Regions from separate parts of the Homo sapiens genome. Here region 1 is linked to region 2. Evidence: promoter capture Hi-C in human tissues and cell types (Jung and others, 2019). All regions are on one chromosome and are shown on one strand. The core of a region is centred on a gene start or on the middle of the fragment in contact, and the rest is flanking DNA. Distances in the headings are between cores, read along the strand shown. Region 1 overlaps PIK3R5 (phosphoinositide-3-kinase regulatory subunit 5). Region 2 holds the start of SPDYE4 (speedy/RINGO cell cycle regulator family member E4).

Region 1 (5,861 bases), core at 2,468-4,967, 170 kb after region 2:
AAGGATACAATCAACAGAGTGAAAAGGCAAGCCATGTTATGGAAGAAAATATTTGCAAATCGTATATCTGATTAAGGGCTACCATCTTGAATATATAAAGAACTCCTGTATAACTCAACAACAAAAACAAACCACCCGATTTGTTCATTCTCCATGAGTTTCAGCCTGGAGAATAGGAAAGAAGGAGGGAAGGAGGGAAGGTGGGAGGGTGGGAGAGAAGGAGGGAGGGAGGGAGGAAGAAAAGGAGGAAGGTAATTATTGAGTGGCTGATCTGTGTCAGGTACTATGTTGGGCGCTTTCACTTAGTTTGATAATCATAATTGATTATCAAATTGATTATCAAATTATCAATCCCCATTGTCTTGGGAATTAACATTCAGTTAATCCCCAAGACATTGATTACTTAGTTTGATAATCATAATCACCCTGTGACATTATCATAATTATTCACATTTCCTGCAGCTCAGGGAGGGTAAGCCATTTATTCACTCAAGTTCCTATGGTCACAATTCCTATGGCCCGAGCTTGAAGTCTGTGCAAAGTTGGCGTGACTCTCAAAGCCCATGTTCTTTCCTATGTCGTGTTCATAGGAAGTCATTTCTACTGGTTTCTAGACACTTAAAGGGCTGAGTGTACTGTTTCGTCTCAGTGTTGTAATTTGAGGCTTCCAGGGAAGACGTCTTGCATAAAAATTGGCTGAGTTTCCATTGTTGGTGATTCATTCTCCTTGGGTTAGGGCTGTTCACTTCCTCTGTCCTAGCTTATTTTTCAAGATGTAAGATTCTTGGAGGATGATTTAGCCACCAGATGAGTCTGTTACAGCAGTGACGGTAGCTAGTGGGCAGGAGAAGGACTCTGGGGCCAGGAGAGGGAGGAAATGTGAAAAGGTAGGTGGACATGGTGTGGAGGTCCAGGGAAGGCAGAAGATGAAGTAGAGATGTACCAAAAGAAAGAAACACTGAAGAAGCAGAGGCAAGACTGCCCACTTCCCCCCATCTTTGCTCAAGCCCTTCTTTACCAAGGAAGGGGCACAGGAATGCCTGGGAAGACCACAGTTGTGGTCAAGACCAAGAAGAAATGGGATGAGGATGAAGGAGGGGAAGGAGAAAGATGCTAACGTGTACACAGCACTGACCCTGGGCCAGATACCATGCTTAGGGCTTGAAGCACATGATCTCATTTATTTTGAGCCACTCTAGGACACTCTGAACTTGCAGAGATGAGGAAGTTCAGCTCCTGTTGGCTAAAAGACTTTCCCAAGGACATACGGATAGCACAGAGAGGATTCGAACTAAGGTCTCTCTGGTCCACTCTACCCAGGTACAGTACCGAAAAGACAACAGGATGTACAATGTCACCTTTTCATATAATAATTTTAATAATAGCAGCTAATAGGAATTGAAAGCTTACTATGTGGCAGGCACCGTTCTAGGTGTTTCTATGAATTAAGTCATTAAATCCATGTGAGGTAGACACTCCTTACCCCCATTTTACAGATGAGGAGACTGCGGTACAGAGTATTCTCTCAGCTGGTAAATGAAGTATGCTGTAGGCAATTTAGCTTCCCCATGCAAGTAAGAGCAGCTATACTGGAGCCAGGGGTGGGCAAACTGAAATTACTGCCAAGCTGGGAAACCAGAGGAAGACTATAACAATAAAACAAGCAATAAGCTCCAGGCAGCAACCGAATTCTTTGGGCACCTGGGCTAAACCTTGGGCACTTACACGGGAGACTGTTTAATCCTACCACCTTTAAATATGGAGCCCATCTTAATGGTTAGACAATGTGCACAGGAGAATAAAGCAGCAAATGAATGTAAATGTAAAAACTCAAGAAAGGCCAATTACACATATATTGGCAGCTTTCTGGTTTTTCTGGATGTGGAAAAAGATTGCAGTTGTGACATTGCACCCTTCCCTTCCCTTCCCCTCCCCTCCCCTCCCCTCCCCTCCCCTTCCCTTCCCTTTTCAAGACAGGGTCTTGCTCTGCCTCCCAGGCCAGAGCGCAGTGGTGTGATCATACCTCACTGCAGCCTTCTGGGTGTGGAAAAAGATTGCAGTTGTGACATTGCAGCCTTCCCTTCCCTTCCCTCCCCTCCCCTCCCCCCCTCCCCTCCCTTCCCCTTCCCTTCCCTTTCCTTTTCAAGACAGGGTCTTGCTCTGCCTCCCAGGCTGGAGTGCAGTGGTGTGATCATACCTCACTGCAGCCTTGACCTCCTGGGCTCAAGCGATCCTCCTGCCTCAGCCTCTCAAGTAGCTGGAACTACAGGCACATGTCACAATGCCTGGCTAATTTTTTTTTTTTTTTGTAGAGGTGGGGTTTCACCATGTTGCCAGGCTGATCTTGAACTCCTGAGCTCAAGCAATCTGCTGGCTTCAGCCTCCCAAAGTGCTGGGATTACAGGCGTGAGCCACCTGCAGCCTGACACAGGCTGCTCACTTTCTACAGGTAGAATCATTTCTAGTTTGTAAGACAGATATGAATATTTCATAGTTTTGGGCAAGGAAGATTTTTCTCCTTCCAGAGCACTGTGACTTCTAGATGCTTTACTATCAGAATAAGTTTGGGGTAGACTGGTCCAATCCATTATCTTTTCCCTTGCACAGCTTTTCTTCTCTTCCAGAGTGATAAACCATTTACCACCCCGTCTTCTCTCCATTAATCCAACAGCAGGTCATTGTTCTCAGACACGGGCACATCTTCACTAGTCTCCTTTTTACTCTCTTTGAACTCCTGCCCAATTATGCAAGAAAAATCTCTCAAATTCTCCCCCTCCATCCCATTCATGAATATGCTTTAGAGCGAAACCTCTCTAACAAGAAAACAGATACTCATCAGGTTTGTGGACAGAACTGAAATCAGACACTCCTCCCGATACTTGGCCAGGTGTGGTTTTTACAACTTTTTATGAAACAAACGCTGATGTCAAGAGTCCCGTTTAGCCCAGTCTAGAACTCTCTAGATCTCTAATGGACAACTTACTATGACATTAGGGCATCAGGCACTGATGCAGTCTCTCCCAACTTCTCACCAAATATACCAGATAGATAGTTAGATAGTAGATGGATAGATAGATAGATAGTAGATGAATAGATAGATAGATAGTAGATGGATAGATGGATAGATAGATAGTGGATAGATAGAAAGTAGATGGATAGATAGATAGTAGATGGATAGATAGATAGTAGATGAATAGATAGCTAGATAGTAGATGGATAGATGGGTAGATAGATAGACAGAAAGTAGATGGATAGATAGATAGATAGTAGATGGATAGATAGATAGTAGATGGGTAGATAGATAGATGGTTAGCTAGTAGATGATAGATAGTAGATGGATAGATAGATAGATAGTAGATGGATAGATAGTAGATGGATAGACAGTAGATTGATAGATAGATGGATTGATAGATAGTAGATGGATAGATAGATAGATAGTAGATGGAGAGATAGTAGATGGATAGGTAGATAGTAGATGGAGAGATAGATAGTAGATGGATAGATAGTAGATGGATGATAGATAGATAGTAGATGGATAGATAGTAGATGGATAGATAGTAGATGGATAGATAGATAGATAGTAGATAGATAGTAGATGGATAGATAGATAGATAGAGAAAAAAGGAACACACATGCATACAATCCAAACTGAAACCAACACTGACAAGCCAGAATGAGGGATTGACATTATGTCTAAATCAGATGGAAATGGATTAAGAAAATCCAGGCTTAGGTTCAGGCCAAAATCTCTATAATAAGTGGGTACAGCTTGCATCATGGCTGAGTACATTTTGGTCCCCAAGTGGGTGTGCACTTTTTCCTTGGATGCTTCATCCCCTTTTGTCTTTTCCTTTAATGCAGATAGATGCATCACATTCACTGAGATGGAGAAGTTTGGGGAGAGGACAATTTGGGAGAGGAAAACAAGAGTCCTGCTTTGTCCGAGTTCTATCCCCTTCAGACCCCAATGGAGAGGTCTGGGCTACAGCTCTCTATTTGGGAGTTCACATGGTGCTGTGGTCACTGAGGCTGTGAACCATGTGAAGCGAGAAGAGTGAGGAGAACACCTCCAGTGTTAAGAGGTGGCACCGGAAGTATCACAAAAAGACACTGAGAAGATGCAGCTCATGAGCAGGAGGAGAACACGATGTGACAGGATCCAAAACAAGCATGTTTCAAGGAGGGAGTGAGGAATGCCACTGCAAGGTCTACAGCATGAGGGCAGAGAAGTGGCCACTGGATCTGGTGACATGGAGGGTTTGAGTGACCATGAAAGAACAAGTGCAGGAAGAAAAGACCAAATGGAATGGGCTAAGGAGAGAGAAGTGACAGAGAGGCAACTGCTTTGGGAAGCTTTGCTCAGAAGAGCTGGGTTTATGAAATGCCCCAGGATCCAAAAGAACCCTAAGGTTCTTCCAGTTTGAAAAAAAATGTCTATATCGATGTCAAAAGAAAAACTACCCGTATTAGTCCATTTTCATGCTGCTGATAAAGACATACCTGAGACTGGGAAGAAAAATAGGTTTAATTGGACTTACAGTTCCACACGGCTAGGGAGGCCTCAGAATCATAGCAGGAGGCAAAAGGCACGTCTTACATGGCAGCAGCCAGAGAAAAATGAGGAAGATGCAAAAGTAAAACCCCTGATAGAACCATCAAATCACGTGAGACTTATTCACTACCACAAGAACAGTATGGGGGAAACTGCCCCCATGATTCAGATTATCTCCCACCAGGTCCCTCCCACAACACATGGGAATTATGGGAGTACAATTGGAGATGAGATTTGGGTGGGGACACGGAGCCAAACCATGTCACTACCCAACATGGTTACACGTCCAAATGCTAACAGAAATTATATCTGGGAGGTAAAAATAGGAATAATTTTTATTTTTTATTAAACATTTTTCATAATATATATTTTATGCCTTGTTTTTTATCACATAGATAACAGAGGTTATATATATATAAATTAAAAAATGGTGCTGGGTAAGTGGAGTAGATATGCTTTTCCCTATTCCATTTGAAATACAACTACAAGCCCTGAACAATATATATAAAACTAACATAAGAGACCCTGAAAGAGAGAGAGAAGGCACACAGGCTAGGGACCCTGGGGACAAGGAATGGCATGGGTGAGTTCCCTGGCTTCTCTTTTTGCCTTATAGATTCCAGACTTGGAGCTGAACAGCCAGCAATCTGAAAAAATGGGTGCAGATTTAAAATAAAGCCCTCACAAAAGCCTGCTCTCTCTAGCCAAAGCCTGAGGAAAGAGGCAACTTAGCAAGACAGACACTTTTAGACAATACCTGCTCTATTCCAGCCAAACTCCACAGGGAAAATTGTGGTGCCACCTCCACCAGCAAAAGCCAGTTAATCGGCTTAGACTTCCACCCTGGCCAGGCCGTAATGAGGTTCCCCAAATCCCCTGCCATGGCCACTGTCTGAAGAAGCCAAGTAGATAGCCAGGTCTTTTATCTCCATTAGCGGTAATTAGCCCCCTCCCACTCCACAGTGTTAGTGGACACCAGTGAGGAGCCTGGACTTCCACCCCCACCAGACAGTAAAGAGACACCTCCATGATAAGATGATGTCAGAGGAAGCCTAGCAGGGAGTCAAGACTTTTACCACTGCCCAGAAGTAATGAGGTCATCCCCTCTGCTGTGGTGGCATTGTAGCTGTAAGGAGGCACTCCTACCGTTTCTAGCCAGAGACGTATCAGTGGAGGCCTGTTAGAACTTAGATATGTTTTTTTTTGGTCCCACCAAGTCTCATGTTGAAATCTGATCTCCAGTGTTGGAGGTGGTGCCTGGTGAGAGGTCTTTGGATGGTTGGAGCCAATCTCTCTGAATGGCTTGGTG
Region 2 (5,744 bases), core at 2,167-4,666:
GTTATGCGAGGACGACCTGAATTTCTGCCTCTGTCATGGGAACCTGGAGAAGGAGGATGGAAAATTGCATTTGGTGTTGATATGGGAAGGAGAGAGACGAGAGAACCAGAAATGGCTGCTTGCTTGGGGAGCAGGGTCGTGTCCACGGCTTTCCTTTCCCCTTAGGACGGGTTTATGTTTCCTTTTGTTTGATTCTACTATTTGTCAACTGCATTTGTGTTTGTTTTTAGAAAGAACAGACTAAGAACACCATAGTATAATCTTATCGTTTTTATATACAGAGTAAAGAGGAGAAGTAGGGTAAAAAAATAGATGGAAGGTTGGAATCCCACTTCGTCCACTGTCCCAGGGTGTTGGATATTGACAGATGGGAAGAAGCAAACTACTCACAGAGCCAGGAAGAAATGAATGCGTTGGTATTGCCACGAGAAGAGGCCGGCACGGCTAAAATACGCTATGACCATAGCCAGGAGATACTGATGGAGAGAAGGGAGTAGAGAGAGAGAAAGGTTGGTCACATCCTGGAAGAGGAAGATGGTGGAGAGAAGGGAACAGGGGCTGGGGCGCGGTTGTCTATCACAGAAGGAACCTCAGTGTTGGGTGACTATGCTCATTGGGGGCTTGCGGGTGGAGAGTGTTCAAAGTCAGCTGCAAATCCGGGAAGTCGGAGGGAGGGAGGTCTGTGATGCTCCCATGATGATGAGCTCCAGTGGGATCACTGGAGGGAGAGTGTCTAGGGCTGCTAATGTCAGGAGGGTCTTGGTGAGCTGGGGCAAAGGACTGTCCCAAAGATCTGAGAGGATAGGGGTCAGGAGTTTCAAGACTGGCCCAGGGCCTGGATTCCAAAGGACCCTGTGCAGAGGCAGGGGCCACCCATCAACTATGCAACAGGCTACCAGAGCCCCGAGGGAGATGCTGACAAATTATGAGAAGACCTAGAATAGCTGGGGGCGGTGACTCACGCCTGGAGTCCCAGCTATTGGAGAGGCCGAGGCGGGAGGATCACTTGAGCCCAGGAGGCTGAGGCTGCAGTGAGCTATGATGGCAACACTGCATTCCAGCCTGGGCAACAGAACGAGACCCTGTTTCTGAAAAAATAAAAATCAAAATGTGGGCGCCCAAGAGTATGGAATCAGCAGGTGGGAGATGGTAGAGGGAGAGAGGAGAGAAACTGTGGGTTTAGACGCTGCACCCTTCCCCAGGACGTGTGTTAAAGCAGGAACACAGTTGAGTGGAGAACAACCTTACCTTGTCTGACACCCTCAGGTCTTTGTCCCAGGCCAGGAATTTTTGAACGACAGGATCCCCTGTGAAAAGAGAGCCTGTGTCAGGGTGAGAAGTGGAACAGGGTTGCCGTGGGAGCAGCAGAGCAGAGAGGAGAACTGTGTCCCTCTGGGGGAAGTCTCAGGATTGTGGCCAAGGCTTAGGTGGATGGGAGAGGAGAGAAGGACTTTCACTGGGCAAGGAGGGAGGCTCCCGCTCTGAGATTCCCCTGAGGAGAGGCCGAAGGAGGCCTCTGGTGTCAGAGTCTACAGGATGAAGAGCTGTGAATAAGCCATGATGTCCTCCCATCAGACAGGAAGGGACCACTGCAGAAGTCATAATAGAATTCCCATCATTGCTTCCTGAGATAGTCACAGCTGGGTGTGCCCATGGCCTTGTTATCCCCCTCCACGGATGGAGACACTTAGGTTTAGAAAAGTCATCAAGAGACATAGAGTTTCAGAGGGTACAGCTGAAACCAAGCTTTCTTTTATCTTTTATTTTATTTTATTTTATTTATTTTATGACAGGGTCTTTCCTTGTCAACCAGGCTGGAGTGCAGTGGTGCAATCATAGCTCATTGCAACTTCAAACTCCTGAGTTCAAGAGATCCTCCCGCCTCAGCCTCCCAAAGCACCAAGATCTCAGGCATGAGCCACTGCACCTGGCCAGAAACCAAGCTTTCTTATTTCAAGTGCAGACCTTTATTAAGACTAGCCTAATCCTCTATCTCCTAAGCATCCTCCTCCTGCATGGAGCGCTCATCCCCCAGGAGGGCATATTCTTCTTATTGGGAAAGTGTGATTATTGAAAGATTCCACTTTTTTAAAAGAACAGGGTTGGAGGTGCTTTTTGGGGTATCCTCCTACCAAGGAGCCTGTTGAAGGCCTCGTGGTGCTCAGGGAGCACGGAGGATGCTCGCTTTCGCTTCAGCTTCATCTTGAGCCCACACAGCGTCTCCACCACCCAGGTGTCCTCGGGCTCAGGGGCGCGCTCCAACTCCAGCTCCTCCTCCAGCTCCTCCTCGGATTCGTCTGACCATTCGCTCTTCCTTTTCAGGCCAAGGGATTGAGGCTGGGGGCTGGGATCTATCCAAGGGGCTGAGTGAAGAAACCAGGCCATGGTGTCATGTTTCTGCCATTGATCACCTTAGACGCCCCGACCCAGGAACCTCAAACTACTCTTCCATCCTCCCAAGCCTCGCAGACTGTCAGCTTCTCCAAGCCATGTTTCCACCTTTCTCCTTTGCTGATCCCCATCTGCCTCTCCCTCACCTCCCCATTCTTCCGGCTCTCTGTCCTCAAAACATTTCCTCATCACAGATAAGAACTTTCAATTGGAGAAAAATGGAAACCTTCCCTTGAGCTCTGTCTGCTCTCTCTCTCTCTCTCTCTTTTTTTTTTTTTTGAGATGGAGTCTCCCTCTTGTTGCCCAGACCGGAGTGCAGTGGCACAATCTTGGTTCACTGCAACCTCCGCCTCCTGGGTTCAAATGATTCTCCTGCCTCAGCCTCTTGAGTAGCTGGGACTACAGGCACGCACCACCATGCCCAACTCACTTTTGTATTTTTGGTAGAGACAGGGTTTCATCGTGTTAACCAGGATGGTCTCGATCTTCTGACCTCGTGATCCGTCCGCCTCGGCCTTCCTCTCTCATCTTTTGAGCACATCTCCTGACCCCCTTCATTGCTCCCCAGACTTTCTTTACACGTGGCCATGCTTGGCCCCATTCCCTGCACCCTCCTTCCCCGATCCCTGGCTTCCTGAGTCCGTCGTTTCTTTCCCACACACCCTACTCAGGTGCTTCAGATTCCCAGTAACTGGCCCCCTTCCCTCTCCTCAGTCAATCATCTCCCATCGCTTCTCCCTCCAGTCACCTCACCTGATGGTCCTGGCACTTCATCATCCACCACCACCTCGGGGGACCGTACCGTTGTGCTAGGCTGGGGGCTCTCCTCCTCAAACGGGGGGCGCGCTTGACCACTGGCCATAATCTCTCCCAAACACTTTGTTTCTGTCCACAAAACCTAGTCCCTGTTCTGTCCAAAGCCTTCTTCCAGACTCCGTTAGGACCCAGAAGAGTGCGTTTCTCTTCTAGAGGCTCGGGAGAAGTTAGGAGTGAAGAGTAGTTCTGAGAAGTTGCTGTTGTCCACCTGAACTCCCAAGCAACCAGAGTCCGGTCCTTCCAATCAGGAAAGTCGGAATCTCTGATGTCATCGGTCATTCCAAACTGGCAACTACTTTGAAGAAAAACACATGTAACTGCCAGACTGATCTCTTTTCTTGGAGATCCGGGGTGAACGGTATCTCCTGGCAATGTCCCAACCTCTGAGCATTGTCCAAAAGCATCCTCAGGGTCTCCACATTCCTCTTTTCCCTGTCCCAGCAGAGGCTGTGTCCTCTCCACTCTAAACTTGAGGGGGTGTTGGGCTCTCCTCCCCGCTTCTCCTTCCCATTTCAGAGTCTAGTCTGGTGAGAGAGGGAGGAAGGTGGAAGGAAATTTAGGGTAAGCAGAATGATGAGTCCTTCCAAGAGTGAGATTAACATATACAGGAGATCCTGGGTAAATTGACTTGTTGAATGGAGACGTTACGTCGAAGTACTCAATGTGGCAAAGCTTTTTTGCTGAATGTTTACTGATATTCACTATCCTGGATCCTATAGTAGGGGAACATGCATCCTTTGCTCTCAGGCATCTTTGAGTCCAAGAGACATTTTGAGGAATGAAAATCACAGGAGACTGTCCATGGTTTCGTACAGATTTTCAATGGTGTCCACAAGTTCAGGGCATCCATGGATCACCTAAAGCCTGCCCTCCAGTTCAGCTAAGGAACTCTGGTCTATATATCAACTATTACAACATATCTATTTCACTTGACCCCAAAATTTGCCTACTATTTATGTATTTTATGAATAAAATATCCTGTGTATAAAAAGACTAAGGGGAAAATCTCAGCCAGGCCCAGGGGCTCCTGCTCATAATCTCCCTCCTTTGGGAGGCCAAGGCAGGGCGTCACTTGAGGTTAGGAGTTCAAGATTAGTCTGGGCAACATAGCAAAACGTCATCTCTACAAAATATAAACAAAGTAATCAGGAATCGTGGCACACACCTGTGGTCCCAGTACTTGGGAGGCTGAGGCAGGAGGATTGCTTCAGCCCAAGTGTTTGAGGCTGCAGTGAGCTATGATTGCACCACTGCACACCAGCCTGGAGGACAGAGTGAGACTCAGTCTCAAAAATATTTTTTTCGGAAAAAATAAAAATGTAAGAGCTGGATACTATCTCAGATACCATCCAAAGAACCTGTGAGTTCTGGCACAGCTTCCTAATGGGCTCCTAGGAGTCTCTCGCTGATGGGAAAGGCACAACTGAATGAGGAGGCAGATCCCGTCGCTGTGGAAGTCCAATTGTTAGGAAACTCTGCTTACATTGAGTGGACCTTCGCATTCACGATGCTTTCAACCATCAGAACTGGTTGGATCCTTTTACAACAAAACAGAAAATCATCTTTCTCTCCTATTTAATAGGCTTTCAAACATTAGAAGATCAATATTCTGTTGCCATTAAAATTTCTCTTCTGTACCACGTAAAGTTCTGATTAATCACTCTTCAAGCCAGTTTTACATATTCCTCTGTCTTCTAGGCACCTTCTGTAGACAGGCTACAATAAGGCAGCCATCTTAAATTATGTCAATACATTGTCCAAAAATGAGCTAAACAGTTCAGGTTTCATCTGATATGTTCAGGGAAAAGCAAAACTATCACTTCTCCCCTTCTCTTTTCCTTCAGTGATGCAGGTTAATACAACAATGGCTGTAGCTATGCACCAAAGATATCATTAGAGTGAAACAGAAGGGCTTTATTGGCTGGCATGGTGGCTCCTGCCTGTCATCCCTACACTTTGGGAGGCCAAGGCTGGAGAATCACTTGAACCCAGGAGTTGGAGATGAGTCTGAGTAACGTTGTGAGACTCCGTCTCTCCAAAAAAATTTAAAATTAGCCTGGTGTGGTGGCACACACCTGTAGTCCCAGCTAGTTCGGAGGCTGAGTTTGGAGGAGAAGAAGTGCTTTGCAAATACCAGCCTTTCAGCCTAAGGATCTCAACTAGGAACATTAAGATACAGATGCCAGGACCCAGCCCCACAGATTCTAATTCCAAAGGACTGAGGTGGGGGCTGATTTAACTTCATCATTGGAGTCCATTCAGATTTGGAACTCTCTGGGTGGGGCAGCGCAATAGAGATCCCAAAGAAAGCAAAATCACTCTCGAATGAAATGAGCAGGAAAGATTTTTTGAGCGAGGTAAGTAAGACCTGGGCCTCACATGGGAGGGCTGTCACCAGGCTTTGTATCCTTGGCTTAGTGGGAACTTTTGAAGCAGCCTCCAAGGCCCCTGTATGCTGGTCGACAAGCCCCCTAACATTGGCTCACAACTGTAATTCCAGCACTTTGGGAGGCCAAGGCAGGAGGATTGCTTGAGCG

The links. The method cuts DNA at HindIII sites, captures the fragments that hold promoters and counts their contacts. A contact is called where the count stands out against the background at its distance.
Region 1: a contact is called between a fragment that was not itself captured here and the fragment with the promoter of SPDYE4 in region 2, in 2 of the 25 tissues and cell types used here (lymphoblastoid cells and small bowel).

Annotation. Positions count from the first base shown.
Region 1 is chr17:8,921,953-8,927,813 of GRCh38, forward strand. All of the region lies in intron 1 of PIK3R5 (phosphoinositide-3-kinase regulatory subunit 5), which reads right to left. Among named protein-coding and RNA genes, the nearest start is that of PIK3R5, 41 kb to the right of the region's middle. The HindIII fragment of the contact is 6,135 bases long and covers 651-5,861 here.
Region 2 is chr17:8,755,130-8,760,873 of GRCh38, forward strand. SPDYE4 (speedy/RINGO cell cycle regulator family member E4) reads right to left here and starts at 3,417. Exons shown (of 7, transcript NM_001394956.1): 1 at 3,145-3,417; 2 at 2,133-2,363; 3 at 1,249-1,307; 4 at 391-476. The coding sequence starts at 3,253. The HindIII fragment of the contact is 5,925 bases long and covers 2-5,744 here.